Regions from separate parts of the Homo sapiens genome. Here all the other regions are linked to region 3. Evidence: promoter capture Hi-C in 16 types of primary human blood cells and fetal thymus (Javierre and others, 2016). All regions are on one chromosome and are shown on one strand. The core of a region is centred on a gene start or on the middle of the fragment in contact, and the rest is flanking DNA. Distances in the headings are between cores, read along the strand shown.

What was found. Contacts are between HindIII fragments. The CHiCAGO score rates a contact against its expected background, and 5 or more counts as called.
Region 1: a fragment that was not itself captured here is called in contact with the fragment with the promoter of CDCA7 in region 3 in 1 of 17 cell types (total CD4 T cells); the score reaches 5.7 in total CD4 T cells.
Region 2: a contact is called between a fragment that was not itself captured here and the fragment with the promoter of CDCA7 in region 3, in 9 of 17 cell types (total B cells, activated CD4 T cells, total CD4 T cells and 6 more). The highest score is 7.7, in total B cells.

Annotation. Positions count from the first base shown.
Region 1 is chr2:174,080,665-174,084,077 of GRCh38, reverse strand. OLA1 (Obg like ATPase 1) reads left to right here. Exons shown (of 11, transcript NM_013341.5): 8 at 2,014-2,154; 9 at 2,830-2,926. Among named protein-coding and RNA genes, the nearest start is that of LINC01960, 57 kb to the right of the region's middle. RefSeq lists an enhancer at 1-303. The HindIII fragment of the contact is 217 bases long and covers 1,491-1,707 here.
Region 2 is chr2:174,350,861-174,354,173 of GRCh38, reverse strand. It overlaps CIRSR (corepressor of RBPJ and splicing regulator), which reads left to right. Exons shown (of 10, transcript NM_004882.4): 8 at 2,449-2,555. Among named protein-coding and RNA genes, the nearest start is that of SP9, 18 kb to the right of the region's middle. The HindIII fragment of the contact is 2,171 bases long and covers 198-2,368 here.
Region 3 is chr2:173,353,181-173,356,671 of GRCh38, reverse strand. It overlaps CDCA7 (cell division cycle associated 7), which reads right to left and starts at 1,800. Exons shown (of 10, transcript NM_031942.5): 1 at 1,688-1,800. The coding sequence starts at 1,708. RefSeq lists a silencer at 1,589-1,858 and enhancers at 2,409-2,498, 1,801-2,756. The HindIII fragment of the contact is 4,998 bases long and covers 1-3,491 here.

The DNA.
Region 1 (3,413 bases), core at 350-2,849, 730 kb before region 3:
GGCGGTAGAGGAATGATTTGTAAGTCTTTATTCATTTGAATTGTACAATAGAACACCTGAGGAATGCAAATAATCCCTCTGAGAACTCTGCAGGAAAGGCTGTTAAAATGACAGGGTAGGACTATTGTTATTCTGAATTGATGTGTTAGCTAAAGTAATTATTTCTTATCTTGTTGTTTCATAACAGTTCTAGTTTTATTAGTTCTGTTGACCATATTTATGAAATAAAGTGTGTATGATATTTTTATATTCTCCTTTTACATGGGCTTGTTTTATTTCACTTTCATTGAATCTATTTGGTATGTGATCTGCTTTTTTAAAATTACATATTTGATTTTAACTTGTATAATGAAAGTAAGTTACTAAACCATTGATGATAACATTTGAATATAGACTTTTGTTTGAATAGTGTAAGTCTGTGAAGTAACTTAGAATACCATAATGTTAACGGAGACAGAAGCACCAATTTCAGTCCCCCCACCTTTTTTTTAACCTGTCCTTCTTAATTTTGGTTAAGAAAACATCTAGTTTGAATTTTATGTTAAAGGCAACATAAATCATAGGACTTGGTCCATTTTTTGGGATATGAACAAAAGAAAAAATACTATTATGAAGATTGAAAACCACAAATAACATACTAAATAAGTAGTTACCTTTGTATAACAAACATATACAAACTCTTGTGTGATTGTTTTTCATTCCTTTCTCCCATCCTAAATCCTGCTCAATGGGCCATAGTCTTAATTTTCTAATAACTCTGCTCCCCTGCCATTGATGGATTTGTGACTTAGTTCTTGTTTTTCTTTTCCCCTAAAGTGGCATTTACATTAATTATTTAAAGGACTTCTGCCACAGCATTTTGCCATAATAACTATTAAAACCTTTGTCTAAATATAGCAGTCTAGTGGAATTATGTAAGCCTATAGCATAATTTTATAAAAATTTTAATGGAATGTATAGTCTCACACTAAACTCAGTTCCAGATTCATAGGAATGTATGCTATGATTATCTGAGAAGGAAAATTAATAATAGTAACTGCTGTTAATTCTTTACTATTTGCAGGCTTTTCTAGGTTCCTTACAATATAATATGTACTATTATTATCTCTATTTTTACAAGTGAGGAAACTGAGGCTTAGAAACGTTCAGTAACCTGCCCAGTAATAAAAAGCTAGGAAAGTGTTAGGCTCTGAACCTAATTAATATATTCACTACACTTATTTCATTTATGTTCTAATTACTACTTTGCCAAATACTCCATGCTTTGGAAGGAAAAAAAATGACTCAATAATGTCTTTTCAGGTAACAACTAGGATCAGTTTCCTAACTGATTTGGCTTTCCAAATCCTTTGTGATTAAAGGAATTTCTTTCCTCTGCAGTTCTATTATTCTTGTTCTCACAAAAGTCAGGTTCATACAGCTGCGTACGTGATCAACCATATTTGTAAATCTGTATTTCTGCACGTGCTTGTTCTGGCTAGGAAAAAGCTTCCTCAAAACTAGTGACCACTGTGAGTTCTGTTAGTCCATGAAGGAACTAAACCAGGCATATAGATATCTGGCTGGAACAAATTATTTATTTGTGAAGGGCTCTTCAGAATTAGCTGGTATTTTTAGGTATGATTCCTGTACAAACAGAACTTTATGTCTTCTTTTAAAAATTTACTTTGTAAAGTAAGGAAAACAAAAAATTATAAAATGGAAGCTTTATTCAAGGGTACAGGTGTTAATGCTGAACAATTTTAGTGTAACTAAAAAAAGTTTTTAAATATTTGTATAATAGTTTCCATAGATAATGTGCTAAAGTAAAACTAGGTTACAGTAAAATACTATGGCGTATACCTGAAGCAGTTGCTGCCTGTTAATGCCTTGACCTTGGAAAGCTATATACAAAAAGATGGCATCATAAAACCGTGCAATTCTTATGAATATGTATGTGCTACTTGATAATAATGAATGTGGTACAGTCATGCATGCACTACAAGATAATGTTGTGCCCTTTTTTGTCTACAGGTTGATAAAAATTAAAGAGTGGGTGGACAAGTATGACCCAGGTGCTTTGGTCATTCCTTTTAGTGGGGCCTTGGAACTCAAGTTGCAAGAATTGAGTGCTGAGGAGAGACAGAAGTATCTGGAAGCGAACATGACACAAAGGTTAATTAGCATTCATTTTCCCTACACTTTATTATCAACTATTTCCTTGCAGTAATTTAATTGCTTGCGCTGATAGAATAATAAATGACAGAGTAATTACCATTATAAAGAGGGAATCTTCTCCTTTCTTTACCATGAGACAGAGTGAAAAGATTTATTTTAAATTAAGTTTTTAACTGTCATCTGTCATCTCCGTACAGTGTTTTAATTATAACATAGGTATTAGTTATGTATATTTTTGAGAAGGAATGATCGCCAAAACTCTTTCGTCATGTTCAGTGGGGGAGGGGAAAGGGTGAATCAGTTGCCATAATTTTTTCTGAGTAACAGTAATATATTGTTTAAATATCAGATTTCAATCAAATAATTTTGCTTTTATGGCCAGGTCCTGGAAATAATTAATTTTGGATGAAAATAGTCATAATTTTTCTTTTTTTAAATAGCAAACAATTCAAAATAATATCTTCAGGCTAATACAATTAAAACCAATTTTAGAAGAGAGGTTTTTAAAAACAGTTACTTGCTTTCTGAACCCTTCCAGTGTATTCTGAAAGATGAATGGTCATTTACTACTATCTTTAACATTTTCTGCTTGAAATGAATAATTTTAGCTCTATACCAATTTCTGGCACAATCAACTTATGTGTTGGGTGAATTTGTTTCATTTGATTTCAGTGCTTTGCCAAAGATCATTAAGGCTGGGTTTGCAGCACTCCAACTAGAATACTTTTTCACTGCAGGCCCAGATGAAGTGCGTGCATGGACCATCAGGGTAAGATTCATACTTATTCATCAGCTATATCCAGTTCCACACTATTGAATTCAGATTGATATCACTGACTTTGAAGTTTGTCATGGTGGCGGTTAGCTAGTCATTACAGATGAGGTTTTTGTCCAGGATAACTTTAATTATTTGTGAGCTGCTGAACAGTGAAAGTGGAGCGGCATTGATTGAGGCAGGTAACAATTGATTCTGCCTATTACATAGTCTGAATTTCTTCATCCTGTAGAATCTGTCTACCCTCCTCCTGTGGTCAGAGATAAGACGCACCAGTATTGTGCTTGCTTAATCTGTGTGACTGGGTTTGTCTGCAGTGAAATTGATGTTGCTTTTCATTTTGTATTCGCTAAGTTTGTTTGGGTTGCGGGTGGTTCTTTCCTCCTTTGCTTTGCTCGGATTACATTTTCAGCAATAAAAGCAATATGACATCATTATGCTCTTCATAGATACACAGTTGGGCTCAAAAAGCTAAACTCAA
Region 2 (3,313 bases), core at 34-2,533, 1.0 Mb before region 3:
AAATATAAATGCTAGAAGAGTAATGATTGTTTAATAGTCTGTATAATCTCTGTAACACTGGGGAAATACATCATTTTCTTGACATAGTTGGAAGTACTGTAAAGAAGGCATGCTTTCTATAACATCTTATTAAAATTACCCATCTTGTGATGAAAACTGATGAAATTAGTATAACCTCTCATCATGATGGCCAAGCTTTGTGACCCTTTATTGGAGTGGTTTTTATTCTAATTATTAACAAGTTTGGTGTCTGAATTCATTCGATATCTAATAAAATTGTTGACAAGGAAATGTAGTTTTGACACTTCAGAAGAGACATTTTCTACTTTATAAAATTAAGTTCCTACATGTGAAATTTGAGAAGCCACCAAAGTAAACATTCTATTATTCATTTAAAGCTCTTAATTGAGCCGGGCGCGGTGGCTCACGGCTGTAATCCCAGCACTTTAGGAGGCTGAGGCTGGCAGATCACGAGGTCAGGAGTTTGAGACCAGCCTGACCAACATGGTGAAACCCCGTTTCTACTACAAATACGAAAATTAGCCAGGCATGGTGGCAGTTGCCTGTAATCCCAGCTACTCCAGAGGCTGAGGCAGGAGAATTGCTTTAACCCAGGTGGCGGAGGTTGCAGTGAGCCGAGATCGTGCCACTGCACTCCAGCCTGGGCAACAGAGCAAGACTCCATCTCACACACACACACACAAAAAGCTCTTAATTGTATGAGCACCTCTATGCCATTTAGAGGCAACCAGTATTAATATTTAAAATTCAATTTTATTTAAGATTGTATTATCAATGTTAACAACCAGACTGAATAATTAAAGGGCCATTAAAGTAATACATAGGAATTAAACATTTTGTATAGAAGAAAAAAATTAAAAACCCTCTTGGTTTAAAATGAAATATTAATATAAGACAGGTGTTTTTGTTTGTTTTTAACTAAATAAGGCTTTTTTTCCTAAAACTATGACATCATTAATAACTTCCCCCATACTCCAATAATAGACAGTTTTTCCCCATCATCTCCCTAGTACCTAGGGCAAACTTACAGTTGTTCTTCGCAATATGAATGGAATGGTAAAGCCTGGAAAGTCCAGTAAAATATATTATCTTATAACTGAGTTTTTCTCACCAAATTTTTAACCACATCTGCTATTGACAGGTAAACAAATTTGAACTGATTGCCTTTTGCTTTCCATGATAATATGCAGGTGAGTGCGCAAATAAGTGGTAAAAGACCAACAAAGCAGTAAAAAGAAATAGACAAAGTATTCAACCAGCAAACTAAAGAACTCATTTCTGAATATTTTTCTATCCCCCTACCCTCCCGTATGAACTCCTTTTTGGCAGTAACTGTCTCATTCTTCCCTAAGTGACAGACACATCAGCTGGAGTACGTCATTTAAGCCAGTGTAGGTGATTTAGGCTGGCAACTTTAAATAGCTGCCATGAAATGTTGTCATTAGTTTGCTATCTGCAGGGAAAACAAAATGAAACAGGAATATACAAAATGAGATAAGAGTCTCTCTTACCTTACATAAACCTTATGTTTGAGGGCAGGGGGCAAACCTTTAAAAAAAAATTATTTATTTATTTAGAGACATGGTTTTGCCATGTTGGCCAAGTTGGCCTCCTGGGCTCAAGTGATCCTCCCGCCTCTGCCTCTCAAAATGCTGGGATTACACGCATGAGTCACCACTCCCAGCTGAAAATTTTTAAAATTTATTGTTAGTTCATATTTGGGAAACAAAAAGCTCACTTTTCAGTCTGAGATTTTGCAAAAGTGGAAGTGTAGTGTAAAAAAATATAAAACATACATACCAATAGCCAGCCTAAAACTGCTTGTTAGCAACCCAAGCTAGTAATTAAAAATTTTGAAATCTGGGAATAAAAGCAAGATTAATTAAAGTACTTGGTGGTTACCCATAGGTGTGTGTGTGTGTGTATGTGTGTGTGTGTGTGTGTGTGATTAGCAACCACTTGGCAATGTATTCAGTATTGTTATTTGACAAATAAGGATGAGGAATTTTGAATTGGAAATAAGGATGATAAATTCCTCATGTACCTTTAAAAATACATCTTTTAAATGAACTCTTACTGAGAGAATAACTACTAAAAGTTTAATTGTAGTTTTTTATTATAATATTTTGCTTTGATTTTATACTAAAAACTGCCAACCAGATAACATCTAAATGTATCTTTTTCAATATGACAAAGTTACATAAGAAGACTCCCCTTGCACGTAAAGAAAAATGCAATTATTTTCTATTCTGAATCTCCAGACTGCTGTTTTAGAAAATCATATCTGATTATTTGCTCAGCAGAAGATTATTGAGTTGATTTAGCTGTGATTTTACTTAACAAAGCTTCAACTGCATTCCTACTGTGGAGTCCGAAAAAGGTAGAGAGATATAAATGATACATTCAAACTGTGATTTTTGTGAACAGGGCCATCGATGCACCCCTCGGAGCTAATAGCGGAGATGAGAAACAGTGGGTTTGCACTGAAACGAAATGTACTGGGGAGAAACTTGACCGCAAATGATCCATCACAGGTAATGATCTTTTTATCAGTAAGCTGAAAATGTCTATAAATCTAAATGTGATTGCTTGTGAATTGCTACTTAATGTTTTCCAATATGCATATATCCATAGGAAAGTAAGATAGAGCAAAGAAAATGCCCAAAATGTGTTTTGATTTTGCTTTATTATTTTAATCTAAATGAGAAATTGTTTATAAACCTGTATTTTAATAAATGAAACTGCTCCTCTGAGTTTATGTGGATAAAATATCTAACTGAACTGGTGATGAGGTTGTTGGTTTTTCCTTCCTGCTAACTTACCCCTGATATGACATTAAATAGAACCAATGGTTAGAAGTATGTAAAAACTCCTAAAAATTGTAGAAAATATTTTAAACTTATTTATTTTATTAAACTATACATAGATCCAGAAAATGATTGAGTTTGAAGGGCTATATTATTATATATTTGATAATGTGCTGTTGAAATTATAATAAAAGCTAAAATTGTGGATATTTTGACATTCCTGTAAAACTCATAATCTTCTTTTTTATATTTCATTAAATTAAAAATAAAGTATTTAAACTGGCAAGAGTTAACATTCAAGAGATAGAGAATGGAAGTCATGCTCTAAACATTTTATCTGTGTGTGTCTATCATCCTTTTCCTGGAAAAGTTTCCTAATGCTGGCAAAGCAGTCATGTTAACCTCTTAGTGCTGTATGATCCACTTCGGCAGGGAGACTACAAAAAAATTTTTTAATTCTCTCCCACTTCCCAATCCAAAATATC
Region 3 (3,491 bases), core at 551-3,050:
TCAGCCGGATGTGGCGGTGCGTACATGTAATCCCAGTTACTTGGGAGGCTGAGGTGGGAAGACTGCTTGAGCCCGGTAGGCTGCAGTGAGCCGTGACTGTGCCACTGCACTCCAGCCTGGGACACAATGAATGTTGGGAGCTGAAAAGGATCTCAGATCCCATTTTCCAGATGAGGATATTCAAGGCCCCAGGAAGGTGTAATAGACTGCAAGATCACAGGGGCAGGAAGGAGAACTCAAGTCTGCCATCTTCTTAAGCAGCAGTGTTCATCGCATTACTGCAGGAATTACCACCCTTTACTCATCAATCTACCTGCAAGCAGTCAGAGGCCCCAGACAGCCTCAAAGGCGGCATTCTATTGGAAGCTGTCCGAGAAATACAGGCTGAGCTTTAACAAGTCAGCACAAGCCAAGAGTTATTTACCAGGCAAACGTATCTTTGGAGGAAAAGCCACAAAAAAGCAGCAAGGCAAATAGTCAAGACGGAGATGAACTTCTTTGGCAGGTAAGTAATAACTAATACCATTTATAGTAGGCGTTTTTCGTGCCAGGCACTATGTTAAGTACACTTTCACGTCAGGTTTAATTCTTTGCAACAAAGGTGCTATCGTTATTCTCACTTAGCCAATGAGGAAACTGAGGCTCAGGAAAGCGAAATGGATTACTCAAGTCCCATGGTGGCTCAGATTTGAACTCAGGCATGTCAGGTTCCAAGACCAGCTACACATGGTTTTCTTCATCCGGAAAGCCAATGCCCAGCTCCACCGGGGCGGCGACTCAGCTCTGAAACCACGCCCCATCGCACCCACCCCCGCGAGGGTCCCTAACCCCTGATATTTATTTTAAACATGTCATTGTCTTCCGTTTCACCCAACCCCCACTCTTCTACCCTCTCCAGGAGCCCGACCCTACGTTCTGGCTTCCGTTAGAGCAAAAAGTAACGTTCCACTCAGAGCAACGTCCTGCAGCTAAGAGTAAGGCTGGGGGGTGGGGGGTGGGGGGTTGGGGGTTGGGGTGGAGGAAGTAGGAAACGAGCAAATGGTCGGCGAACGCTTTGACCCACCAAGCCCTTTAAATGCACTTAACCACCGCCCGGGACTACGGTCGCTTCACACTGCGTGCGCAGCCCAAGTTCTAGGAGACCGGTTCGCAAGACCTTAAACCTCAGACGCGCTGGCCCTCAGCGGTTAGAAGCGGACGCGTCTCTTGCCGGGCGGGGTGCGCGCCCAAGGGCCACCCACTGAGCGCGGGTATAGACGCGGCGAGCCACGCACTGGCTCCGAGTTGTGTGCGGGAAAGGGCTGGGCCGCTGCGGGACAACCTCCCAGGGGGCAGGCAGGCTGGCTCTGCCTGGCAGGCAAAATCGGGACCGGCCAGCGCTCCCGGCCGCTGTCCGGCCTTTGGCGGACGCACGTGCCTAGGGCTTTCCAGCGCTGCTAGCCATCCTGCAAACGACTCAAGTCTCCACGCCGCCCGCACTTCGGGTGCGCACGCCACGCAGGAACGTCCCCATGGCCCTCAGTTATCCCAGGTGCACAAAATCAGGGGCTTGCCCAAGCGGGCAACGCCTAGGCAGGCCACCAGTTAAGGCAGCGCTAGGCTGCGGAGTTGGAGAGGGTCGGCCCGCGCCCGCCTGCGTCCAGCACCCACCGCGCCCGCCCCTCGGGTTCGCCCGCCCAGCCCTCACCGGCACGCGGCGAGCGTCCATGCTGGTGGCGGGTGCCCAGATCGGCGCTTGGAGCGGGGAGAGCGGAGCAGCCGCGCGGTCAGCGGTCCCACAGCAGGAGGAGCAGCAGCAGCGCGGCTGGCAGGCTGGGCGCGCCGACCCGGGCCCGGAGGGGCGGGGCTCGGGCTGTCTTTCCCGCGTTGGGACACAGGTCCTGCAAGCTGTGGTAACGGCCAGACATGGCGCAAGACTAGGTGGCCCCCTGGAAAAAACACGACCCCCCTATATATTCTGACCTCAAAGGATAGCCTTGGGCACTCCTAAAATCCCCTTTGAGAAAGGGGGGCTTTAGGGGCTACGGGGACCACTCTCCTTGTGCAGCTGCGCGGTCCTGAGCGAGTGGCGCGAAAATGGTTCGTATTGCCCCGGGGTTAGCTGTCTGATTTGCAAGAATTTTCGTGGTGGCGGAGGAAAAGTGGAGTCTGGGGGGTAAAGGAGAGCAGCGTGAGGGTGGCGCGGGTCACGCACCATGGCGTTTAGCACTTTCATTGCTGCGTGCGGTTTACAAGATTTAAAAAATCATAGAATCCAGCACGAACTCCACCCTTCATAATCGAGTTCACCGCCCCTGGATGTAGCACCTCTTATCTGGGAACCACACCATTATCTGAAGCAATAAAATGAGTTAAATCCTGATCTTTCTTTCCAAAAAGCACAGGAAGCCGACTTGTTTACTTGTGGTTTTCAAAGTAGAAGAAAAGCCGCAGCAGCTTGATGAAGACGTCTATAGTATAGTTAACCTTTAACGATTATCTGTTGGGGATTGAAACTAAAGATTGAACAATTGTGGCTTGATGATCTTCTCTGTCTTCAGAATTGAGAACTACCCTGAGTCAGTGCGAACGAGAAAACTTTTCATTGCCCTTTTAACCAAACTTGGCATTACAACGAAAAAATGAAATAAAGCGAGGCTTTTTGTGTGCGTGAAGAGCAAAACTTGCTTCTACAAGAAAAAGTAAATTTAGTTTCTTTAGAAGACACTAATTATACTCTTAACATTTAAAACAAGCGCTTGAAATGAAAACATTCGCATTTCCCCCTCATTTCAAAACTTTTCTCTGGGGAATAATTAATTCCTTTGCAGTAAGAGAGTGCATGGACATACTGTGTTCCTCTCTTGGTGTACTGAATACAAAAACTGTGAGCAAGTAAATAATGCCCGAGGACAATGGATTGGAAGGAGTCTTCCAGCCTTTCTTAAATATACCTACCCAGTAATCACTCTGCCACTGTGCAAGGGACAAAGAGCTCAAGGTCTAGAAGGTGAGTGCCAGGAGGAGAGGCTATCGGTGGGTGGTGAAATTACGGAATTACAGGGCCCTCAGTAAGTATTTGTTGAATGAATAAACATTTGGGAATATAATTTTGTGCCACTAAAGCTAAATATATGAAAATTTGGAATTACTAGATCCATGAAGCAGGGGAAGATTAAGTCACTTTGCCTGTGAAAGGTTCTGATAGGGAAATTTTTAGTCTTCCTGGGAGCACAAGAAAATAATTTGGTGTATGTGTTTTTTAAGGATAAGATCTCTGGTCTATTCGTCTTTTTAGTAATCAGGAAAATGCAAATTAAAACAAGTGTCACTGGAAAGGGGTCCCGATCTAGACCCCAAGAGAGGGTTCTTGGATCTTGCACAAGAAAGAATTCAGGGCAAGTCCGTAAAGTGAAAAAGCAAGTTTATTAAGAAAGTAAAGGAATAAAAGAATGGCTACACCGTAGATAGAGCAGCCCGAGGGCTGCTGGTTGCCCATTTTTATGGTTATT